3 separate regions of the Homo sapiens genome follow, and regions 1 and 3 are each linked to region 2. The links are contacts of gene promoters, found by promoter capture Hi-C in blood cells and fetal thymus (Javierre and others, 2016). All regions are on one chromosome and are shown on one strand. Each heading gives the region's core, a stretch centred on a gene start or on the middle of the fragment in contact. The rest is flanking DNA. Distances are from core to core; before and after follow the strand shown.

What was found. Contacts are between HindIII fragments. The CHiCAGO score rates a contact against its expected background, and 5 or more counts as called.
Region 1: the fragment with the promoter of MTDH here is called in contact with the fragment with the promoter of PEX2 in region 2 in 3 of 17 cell types (total B cells, fetal thymus and total CD4 T cells); the score reaches 9.8 in total B cells.
Region 3: a contact is called between the fragment with the promoter of PCMTD1 here and the fragment with the promoter of PEX2 in region 2, in 2 of 17 cell types (total CD4 T cells and naive CD8 T cells). The highest score is 8.8, in total CD4 T cells.

Annotation. Positions count from the first base shown.
Region 1 is chr8:97,642,462-97,645,900 of GRCh38, forward strand. It overlaps MTDH (metadherin), which reads left to right and starts at 1,723. Exons shown (of 12, transcript NM_178812.4): 1 at 1,723-2,426. The coding sequence starts at 2,046. RefSeq lists silencers at 1,311-1,420, 1,601-2,060, 2,331-2,400, 2,684-2,852 and enhancers at 1,573-2,553, 2,554-3,439. The HindIII fragment of the contact is 3,502 bases long and covers 938-3,439 here.
Region 2 is chr8:76,998,038-77,001,695 of GRCh38, forward strand. It overlaps PEX2 (peroxisomal biogenesis factor 2), which reads right to left and starts at 2,041. Exons shown (of 4, transcript NM_000318.3): 1 at 1,953-2,041. RefSeq lists an enhancer at 2,036-2,330. The HindIII fragment of the contact is 1,935 bases long and covers 2,012-3,658 here.
Region 3 is chr8:51,897,259-51,900,586 of GRCh38, forward strand. It overlaps PCMTD1 (protein-L-isoaspartate (D-aspartate) O-methyltransferase domain containing 1), which reads right to left and starts at 1,778. Exons shown (of 6, transcript NM_052937.4): 1 at 1,672-1,778. It overlaps PCMTD1-DT (PCMTD1 divergent transcript), which reads left to right and starts at 2,057. Exons shown (of 4, transcript NR_189279.1): 1 at 2,057-2,588. RefSeq lists a silencer at 1,285-1,974 and enhancers at 2,015-2,304, 2,475-2,534, 2,835-2,894. The HindIII fragment of the contact is 4,691 bases long and covers 1-3,288 here.

The sequences.
Region 1 (3,439 bases), core at 473-2,972, about 21 Mb after region 2:
GAGACTCCATCTCAAAAAATAAAAAATAAAAAATTCACAGATGTTTATCTAGAATGGTCAGAATAGTCAGTGGAACTTCTTAGGAAAATCATGACCCTTCACATCTCTAGAACCAAAACACGTGCAGAAATCTTATTTCACAAATATAAATGGAATTTGGAAACTTTGAGTTAAAGCAGATCCCAATAACATTTGCTAAGTTTTTGGCCTCCTAATTTAATTTAGTCTTTAATCATAAGTCTTGGCAAGTGTAGTATGCTTTTATTATTTATTATTTACAAAACTCCCTTCCACACATGAATCACAATATGCATTACGACACTGTTGCAAAATAGGTCAAAATACATTTTTGGTATTTGGTGGTTATTAATATTACCCCTGCTGTATTCCTTGAGAAAGCCTGTATTTAGTTCACTTAAGACAGTTGCTTACACGCTAATGATCATTTACCGATAAAATACAGAGTTTCCTTATAGCAAAATATAATCTTAAAACCCTAAGGCAGCCTTCAAGCATTTCCCTTATAATTAAAACCTGAAGGCCTGGCGTGGTGGCTCACGCCTGTAATCCCAGCACTTTGGGAGGCTGAGGTGGGCGGATCACGAGGTCAGGAGATCAAGACCATCCTGGCTAACACGGTGAAACCCCGTCTCTACTAAAAATACAAAAAATTAGCCGGGCGTGGTGGTGGGTGCCTATAGTCCCAGCTGCTCGGGAGGCTGAGGCAGGAGAATGGCTTGAACCCAGGAGGCGGACCTTGCAGTGAGCGGAGATAGTGCCACTGCACTCCAGCCCGGGCGACAGAGCGAGACTCTTGTCTCAAAAAAAAAAAATTTGAAAAGGCAGTTCGTTTCCTTCTATAGCTGCATCCCAGAGATGGTCAACATAGCATATAAAAATGGAATTTTTGCAAACCCCTTTTGCAGTGTTGTAGAAAAGCTTAAAATAAAACGTAACGAGAAAGCTCCCTCCATAAGTAAATACAATCTAATGTGCTTCCCCTTATGTGTTATTAAAGCTACAAATTAGTAGGAAAAGAATAGTGCCGCCCACGGGCTTTCCAACTTTTGAATTCTGGGGACTAACAACAGAGAGCAAGAGTGAATGAGCCAAACGACGCAAACGTGCCCTCGCCAGGCTGGCAACTGGTAGGCACGCAGTGTATTAGTTGCCCTGGAGAGAAACACCCTGGAGAGAAATACCCAATTTGTGAACTAAACCTAGGTCCCGGAAGAACAGTGTTCGGCGTCAGACTCCGTTGAGCTCATTCTGGAAGGATCCAACTGGCGCCACCAGGGAGAAAAAGCGATTCCACCTCAATAACACTCCAGAAAAAGGCATGAAGAGCCCTATACCTGCCAGGGCGACTTTGACCTAGACCCGGTGACCCGGTTCCTAGCGCTGCAGCCCTACCCGCCCCCCGCCCGCCCCCGCCTTGCACGGAGCCCCTCCTCTGTACTCATTCGTTGCGCCACGTCTCCTAACTCTGCGCCACCAGCCACCCCGCGAAGGCGTCCACCAATTAACCCCTCCCAGCTTCTGGTCTACAGTAACGGGTCCCCAACGCCGCGTCTTAACCAGGCCCGAACCGACCACCGCCAACCTTCCCTGACACGCCTTTGCCCCACCCGACCCCGCCCGCCCCCACGTGACGCCCACGCCCCGCCCACTGGCGCCCACGTGACCCACGGTCGTCCCCGCGCGCGGCGTGGATCGCGGCCCAAGCCGCCATTGTTCCGCCGAGGGAGGACAGCGGGGCCTGGCGCTGGCGCCGAGACGCCGCTTAGCGGCCGCCACTGGAGACACTCCCTCCCGCCTCCCGGGTCTCCTGGCGGCGGCGGAGTGAGGCTGACAGCGGGGAACCTGGGAGACCCCTCCGCCCTCCCCGCGGTGGCAGCGGCCGATCCCCGGCTCCGGCGCGAGGGACGGCCGCGATGCGCTCGGCCTGAGGTTACCCGGCCCGGCCCTTCCTCGCTTCCCTCGACTATTCCACTGCGTCTCCGCGCCCCGGCGTCATCCTGCGAGTCCCTCTGACGGGAGGGAAGATGGCTGCACGGAGCTGGCAGGACGAGCTGGCCCAGCAGGCCGAGGAGGGCTCGGCCCGGCTGCGGGAAATGCTCTCGGTCGGCCTAGGCTTTCTGCGCACCGAGCTGGGCCTCGACCTGGGGCTGGAGCCGAAACGGTACCCCGGCTGGGTGATCCTGGTGGGCACTGGCGCGCTCGGGCTGCTGCTGCTGTTTCTGCTGGGCTACGGCTGGGCCGCGGCTTGCGCCGGCGCCCGCAAAAAGCGGAGGAGCCCGCCCCGCAAGCGGGAGGAGGCGGCGGCCGTGCCGGCCGCGGCCCCCGACGACCTGGCCTTGCTGAAGAATCTCCGGAGCGAGGAACAGAAGAAGAAGAACCGGAAGAAACTGTCCGAGAAGCCCAAAGTGAGTATGGGATGAGCGGCAGTAGAGAACGGGCGAAGGGCGGGCGTGGAGACCCTCGAGCTTGGGGGAGGCCGCGCCCCAGCCGGGAAGGAAAAGAGTGCTTAGTCGAAAGCCGAGAGGCAGCACTCCCAAGTGGAGGAGGAGGTGATAGGTGGTCATGTTATTTGGGGAATGGGGGGAACTCAGGAAGTATAGGACGAGTGGGGAAGCCCAGTTTCGAGGAAGGAAGTTAGGAGGTCTGGGGGTCCGTTCAGATAGGCGCCCAGAGGTCAAGCCATCTTTGGGAACCGTCACCGCTAGAATAAGCACAGCATCCTTCCTTGAGGCCTGCAGAGTAGGCTGCATGTGGAGCGTAATGGGACCTTAAGGTGGTGTTAGGAAGTTGTATAAAGACTGCGCTCGGAAGACAGATGTCTATCTCAAGTCACATTGAGACAGTAGGCAGTGGAAGAAGTGCGGTGACCTAGAAATTCTGGGGCTTACACAGGATTAAAGGTGTCCAGGTCTAGACGCGCTTCCATTTTAGTTGGGACTGTTAAAGGGAAATGGTTGCCCATTCTTGTTCTGGCAAATGTGGCCAACAGAGGCCGGAACGGGAGCAAGGCAAGAGGGGGTCGGTTACCTAATACGCTTTGAGGTGTATGGTCCTGTGAGAAAGAGCTAAGGCGAGTTCAACGAACGAGTCTGTTGCACACTCTGTGGCGTGGTAGATTTGTGAAATAGAGTAAAGGGAGATGACAGGGCAGAATGGTGAAAGCCGAGAGAGGAATTCAGGCACCGATTTACTGGGCCACGTGTGGAAGTTGCAGAGGGCATCACGTCTGTCTTAGGCCTTCATGTTTTACGTTTACATTCTTTATTGCCATTCCCATGGTTCTCCCATTATATCTTTCATAGTTTTATGTATTTTTAAAAATATTTTACATTTGAGCAAATTGAGACTATGGAGGGTATGCAGAGTTAGAAACAGCACCTAACCTATTTTTATATCCAGCGAATTAAGATCTTCACCT
Region 2 (3,658 bases), core at 791-3,290:
ATTTGCTTCTAGGTTGTCCAACTCAGATCATCAAAAGAGGAAAAAATGAAATAATTCAAGAGAGAACTTCTGGCCAGAAATAAAGATTGTGTACATTCACACATTTTCCTTGTGCTATTGGAACCTGAGAATGTGGATGGTGTGCAAGAGGGAAAGAAACTTACAATTATTTGATGTTGTGAGAAAAACATGGGGCTAGGACTGAGCTCTTTTAATGGGTGTGATGATGAGCAAGCCTGCTAATACCTTTAACGTTCAGGTACCAAATATGTAAAATGAAAAATACTTGTCCTCCCTACGGCAAGAATCATTATGTGCATCAAATATAAGCAAAACTTTTATGGCTAAAATAAAAGGATATGGAGAAGAAGGAATAATAAATTCTAATTCTGTTCATAAAGAAAAACATTTCAAATTTGTATTGATAAAATAAATTGAAACAGAATAGGGACATATTTGTAGCTTTTAGAAATAAATTAGCTGTGAATATATTATTTTTAAAAACTGTAATAAATGTACATTGAGTACAAATGAATAATTATCCCAAAAACCAGAATTTTAATGCTAGAAGAAAAGGCAGATCATCTCGTTTAAGACATAAATTTAATCTTCTTAACAAGAACCTTGTTATTCAAGCGGAACACCTAAATGGCTGCTCTTGTTAAAATAAACCTGAGGGTGGGCTTGCTTTGTCTCTCCCTGCACGGCTCCAGAAAATTTCTACACAAGTTCTCCTATGGAACAGTTTTAAAACCCCAGCTTGAGTACTAACACTAGTTTCTAAAAATAAGGAGAATACGGCCAAGAGGTAAAATTGTACAAAGGCAACTAGAGTCAGGACTAGAATCCAACTGTCTTGATTTAGTCTAATACTCTTCAGTCTACTAGTCTAGTATTCGCTCTATGTCCTGTTACTTCTATTTTTTTTTTTAAGAAAAAAATATGAAGGGTTTTTTTTTTTGACTCTGTAAATAATTCTTTCAAATCTCTTTCTGGCTCAAGATCACTCAACTGTAATCTTTCTGGAAACAAGTAATTGATAATATAGGTGAGATCAGATAAGTTAAAAGAGCCACCCCAAGTTCATTCTGTTCAGGATTAAGTAAAGGTAACACTTTAGGGGAAGGTGTTTAGACTACAAGCTGCGGTGTTGTGAGCGCCCAAGTATCATTTAATTGTCCGAAACGTCAAGATAAAATATTTCCGAGGGGCATCACGGAAGTTTAACAGAATGTGTTAGACTTGAACGTTCAACAGCTTGCTCATTTTGCCAAAAGCCCTTTCACTAAATGTGGGAAATTTGGAAAATGGTACCTCAATAAATAAACAAACAACGATTTTTAATTTAAGAACCCAGGAAAAAATGTTAACAATTCTCACATTCAGATTTCTTATCAAAAGTCAACGTGAAATATAACTAATTTATCGCAAGCAATTTTATCAGAAACTTTTCATTATCTCTTCCTCCATAAGAAAACCAAACTGCATTTACGTGCGCTTTCAACAGTGTTAGAAAACTAAGCACTCAAATTTTTTGTACTACATATAACACTTTACATGAACTTTCAGATATTAAGTAAAGTTTGGATCCTCAATTCTTTATAAAGCCGTTTATAAGAGGTAAATATCTTCACGACCGCCAAATGAGAGAAAAAGATTTCGAAGTTCGTCTCTTAAGTTACTACGTGGAATGCAGAGGGGCTCAACTGCAGCTGTGTGTGTGTTTATTTTTAATGCCGCGATCCTAAAAACATCTTTAGGAGTTTAGGTTTGCTTCACTGCCTTTCCCAAAATTCAGCAGCTTTGATTTGCCTTTTCCAGGGAGACAGGAAGCCAATAAACAGGGAAAAAAAAGCAAACGGCGACAATTACAAGGTCGTGAAACTCCACGACCTCCCAGCTGAAAACAAGACCTCGGGTTTGCACTCCGGCTCTCTAGGGCAGACACTGACCTTAGGAGTCTGCGAAACGCCCACGCTCCACGTAACTTTCTCTGAAACATTCTCTGGAAAGCTTGTCTTTTCCTAGCCGAATCTGGATTACCAAGGCTTCCGGAACTCGCAGGCTTCCGGAGCGACGCAGGAGCCGGAAGTGGCTGAAAAAAAAAAGAAAAAGTTACACCAACGAGAACTGCGCTTTAGCGGCGCTGCTGAAGGCACTGGATGGCCAAACAACCGCGAACGCCGACAAGCCGAAGAGCCGAAGGGCCGAAAAGCCGAAGCGGACACCCGCGCGCGGTGATTGGCCGGTTGGCCGGAAGAACTCTGTCTCTGATTGGCAGGAGAGTCACGAACCGGTCAGCCCCGGGTCAGGGGCCGCAAGTGAGGACACTACAAGTGTCGAGGGGCCTAGGGGAAGCCGGGGCTTGGGAGGGCAGGGCTTTCTCTGCTTGCGGACATCGCGAAGGGCCTCTGGCAGGCGCCGCCGGGTGGCGGCGAGACGCCTCCGCGCCTCCGGGGTTCCTTGTTCGCTGTCGGAGGAGGACCGGCTGAGGGATGGCCTGGTGGGGAGGGAGCCCTCGGGCAGGTGGCTGCGTCGGGCCTGGGGCAGTTGTGCTGCGCTTGGAGACCTGCCCGCCCTCGGGGCCTGTGTGCACAGGGAGGATAGGCTGTTTATCTCTGCAGGCTCAGGAAGGCAGGTAGCTGGCCCGTCAGTCATCCGCCCTGCAAAGCGCTCCCGAGAGACCCCGTAGAGCGGGCCAGCGCGCGCCTGGCCTGAGGTTTCCCGCCCCCGGAGGCCCTCACATCTCCCCGGTAACGCTTAGGAATTCGGGCAGCCAGCTCGCCTACCCCTGGGGAATCGAGGCAGAGCTTCTGGGAATGGGGTCTGAGGGAAGAGTGCTCACCAGGCAGTGACATGTAGCCGTTGAGGATCGCCACTGCCTTCTCGTTCTGTGGTATGAATGGCAGTGTCTCTCTAGAGAGTTAGTGCTTAAGTTTGAATGATGGCAGGCACTTCAGGATTCCAGCACGTAGTAGGGTTTAAGAACGTCTTAGTTCTTACCTCCAGTCTCGACTCACCGTTCCTACAAGGAACACTCACTTCTACGAAAGCTCTATTAGACATTCGAGGGAGAGCTTATACTGTAGAACCAGTGTTATTAGGAAAGTTTTTTTTTTTTTGCTTGTATTTTTATTTCAGAAACTACCCATGGAGCAGAGTTGCTAAAATAAAATTTATTAACTCTAATGCTATCCAAATTGTGAAACAATGGTACAAATGAGATAGAGTAGAAGCTACAAATTGATAGAGTATGTAGTTCACTTAGGGGTTTGGGAGTGGATTTTCTAGAGCTGCAACTGTCCAGTGTAGTAGTCACTGGCCACCTGAAAAGTGGCTAGTCTGAACTGAGGTCTGCTCTAAGTGTAGAACATGCACCAGATTTCTAAAGCGTGGTCTGAAAAGAAAAAGAATGTAAAGTATTTCATTAATTTTATATTGCTTACATGTCAAAATGAGAATGTTTTGGAAAATTTTAAATTACGTGGCTTCCATTATATTTCTATGGATACTGCTGTTCTAGAGAGTAAAAAAATCTCACTGAAGAAGAGTAGGCCTTTCGTTTAGCAACTGTGAAGAAAACCAACCACGCTGCACCTCTCAGGTAGCCTACAGATGTGCTGTGCTTCACTTAATTTTTGAGAGGGACGGGGGAAAA
Region 3 (3,328 bases), core at 528-3,027, about 25 Mb before region 2:
ATGCAATGGGAATTTCCTAGCTTTCTGTCTTACTTAATAGTAGGCAGTGTAGTATCACCCCTCCACTTCCAGTTTACTCCCTATAGCTTACTTACCAAAATATTTAATCCCTGTTGCTTTTTTTTTCTTGTCTCAGGCTAGGGCCACTAGCTTTCTATCTTTCCTACCTTACCTTTCCTTCACATATTAGCTACTTCATGTTAAAGAAATTACAAGTGTTCAACTGACCATATGGAATTAAAATTTACTTAGAAAAAAATGAAATAAAAAAAACCAAAAAGTAAACTAATTCAGCAACTTTATGTTTTATGGAGTCATCTAGCCTCATGTAAACTACCATTAAGCAATACGTAAACATATTAATCTGCTTAATACGAAAGTAATGTCGTCTGGCCGCAGACATTCTGAAAGTTTTGCCACATTGTTTCAAAATATTGGCTTGTAGCCCTTTTCAAAGCTACTGATTATTGAAAACTTGGCGACCATGTTTAACAATGAAGAAAAGGCTTCCCCAAGCCTACGTAGATTGGATTCTCTAATACATAGTAATAATGTTTTTTAAAATAATGAGGTGTGTAATAAAATGGAGGAATATCCATGATGCATTGTTGGCTAATAAAACGATATACTGTACTATATATGATCCCAATCTTGTTTCTAAAGCACACTCATTAAATGCACAGAAAAAAAAAATCCTGAATAACTACCCACCACACTTGGAGACTGGCTACCCTGGGTAGTAAGAAGGAGAAATATGGGGGGAAGGGCGCGAGAGAGGGCAGGTTTCCTCATTGTTTGGCTGCTTCATGTTTTTCTCAAGGAGCAAGCAGTACTTTTGTAATTAAAAAAATAAATAGGGGAAAAACACTGCTAAAAGCATACTTTTTTCCTCCGTAGCAAATTCTTCTGATTTGTAATGTTAAAAATATATCTCTGGTTTCTCGATTCTAAAAAGAGGACACACGAAAACAAAATTATAGAAGTTCCAAAAAATCTTGGATTTGCAAAATTACTCCCTCGGGTTCTGCCCGTGGGTCCTCCCCATGCCGGTGTCTGAAATTCCCCAAGCAAAACGCGGGCACTGCACTTCCCCGGAACGGTAGTAGACGCTCAAAAACACAAAAAGAGGCCTTGGCGCCTGCTATAACCTCTCAGTCCCCTCCCAGCCCCCGAGACTTCCCCGAGTCTACGTAGACTGGATTCTCTGCCTCCAAAACCAAAACAGAAGTCACTGGGCGGATCCAAAACGGCCCTAAGGGGCCCGCGGGCATCTCAAGACGCCAGCCTCGGGACTCTGGTCCCCAAGCCCAGGTCAGAGCCGAGGACGAGCCGAGGACGGGCCGAGGACGCGGCGCCCCGGCCTCCCTCGGGCCCCCGACCTCCCCGGCCCCAGGGACCCCGGCTCCCGACCTCCAGGCTTCGCTGGGCCCCTTTCGACTCCCCGACCTCCCAAGTCCTCCGCCCCCGGCCCGTCCTTCCCCCAACCTGCCCCGCAGCGCCTCAGTTTCCTGGCCCCCGACCTGCCCGCCCTTAAGTCCCCCTGCCCCCGACTCTTCGGCTGCCGTCCCCCTGGCCCTCTGGCCTCCAAGCGCATCCCAGTCGCCCGCCCGGCCCTAGCACGCGGGACTCGCACACCCCACGACCCCGAGCCCCCACTGGCGGCGGCGTTACCTGTGGCGCGGGCAGCGGCGCGCAGGCCAGGCGCTAGGACTCGGCGGGGTCCGCAGCAGCCAGACGCCGCTACCACCACAATAACAACACGGACGCCACCGCCGAGTGGAGAGGCGGGGCCCGGACCCGCGACTGGAGCAGCCAGAGCCTCCCGGACTCCGGAGCCGCCGGGGTCCGGGCATGCGCAGAGAACCACGGGCACAGGGGCAGCTCCCCGCGGACGCCAAAGTCAACAAGGCCGGGAGACGCCCCCATCTGGCCCCGCCCCCCTCAGGGCTCGCTCCGCCCCCAAGCCCAAACAACGCGAGGCCTTGACAGGCCAGAAGACGATGGCGGTAGGGGAGATCACGCGAGAGCATGGCCTCCACCTCTCCTCCCCACCGCCATCTCCACGTTCTCGCACCGGCGCTGGGGTGCAGGCTTTCAGTGGTCTCAGGGCTACGGCTTGTCGGTGCCTCGCCGCACAGTCCCCTTTGCATTGAAGGACACGGTCTTACGGTGTAGGAGCATTTTTGAGGTGCATTCCTGGATTTGGAGGCGAACCCCCAATGGTTACCTCCACAGAGGCTTTGCGAAGGGCGCTCACTGACTTAGGTGAAGAGCGAAGGCTCAAGACTGTGCCGCTTTATAGTGGCCCCTTGACGTCCAGAAGTTCCCCCCAGCGCCGGTCATAAGCACTCCCGCCGCCTGGGCCCCGCCCTGCCTGCCAGGCGCCCTCCAGCCTCAGCTCCCGGACGCCCGGCGTGGCCGCTTTCTCGCGTCTTGCTGACCCGGGCCGGGGGCGTGTGCTCCTCCTGCAGCGGACGGAAGATGCTGGGCCACGCAAGTTTCCCTGGGCTTGGTTAACCACCCCAAAGCCCATTTCCAGAAGGAAAGGGTGTTGAGGAGGAGGGATAGAAAGTCGAGAAGAGGGCCGGGTGAGTGGCTCACGCCTGTCATCCCAGCACTTTGGGAGGCCGAGACAGGCGGATCACCTGAGGTCAGGACTTAGAGACCAGCCTGGCCTACATGGTGAAACCCCGTCTCTACTAAAAATACAAAAATTAGCCGGGTGTGGTGCCGTGCGCCTGTAGTCCCAGCAACTCGGGAGGCTGAGGTAGGAGAATCGCTTGAACCCGGGAGTCGGAGGTTGCAGTGCTGAGATGGCACCTGGCCTGGGCGGCAAGAGCGAAACTCCATCTCAAAAAAAAAAAGAAGAGGAAATGAGGCATAGGGGCAGGCGAGCCGGGAAAATATTGCTACTAAGGATCCTAAGCAGTGAACATGCTGTTAATACTTGTAAGACTCCTAGCAAACTGCATTTAATTTTTTAAATTAGTTTTAGTGTACATAAAGGCATGTCTTTTCCAAATACTGTACTTTTTGAAGTGTTCTTTGTTGTTCATTAATCTTTGTGCGTTTCCCTTCAGTCTCTAATAGTAGGTTGTAGCATGATTTGCTTCCATCGTGTGAATTCTGTTCGGTTTTGATTTTCAAGTATGAGAGTGAGCGTAAGCTACCCTTATAGGTTACCTAAGGTAAGTTAGAATTAGAACGTCTTTATGCTAGGGTTACTACTCCCCACCATAACCAACCATCTGCAAAAGCGTTCAGAAAGAACATGCTAGCAAGGTCAAAAGCTTCAAATCACGAAATAAGAACTTGAAAACGAGCAAAA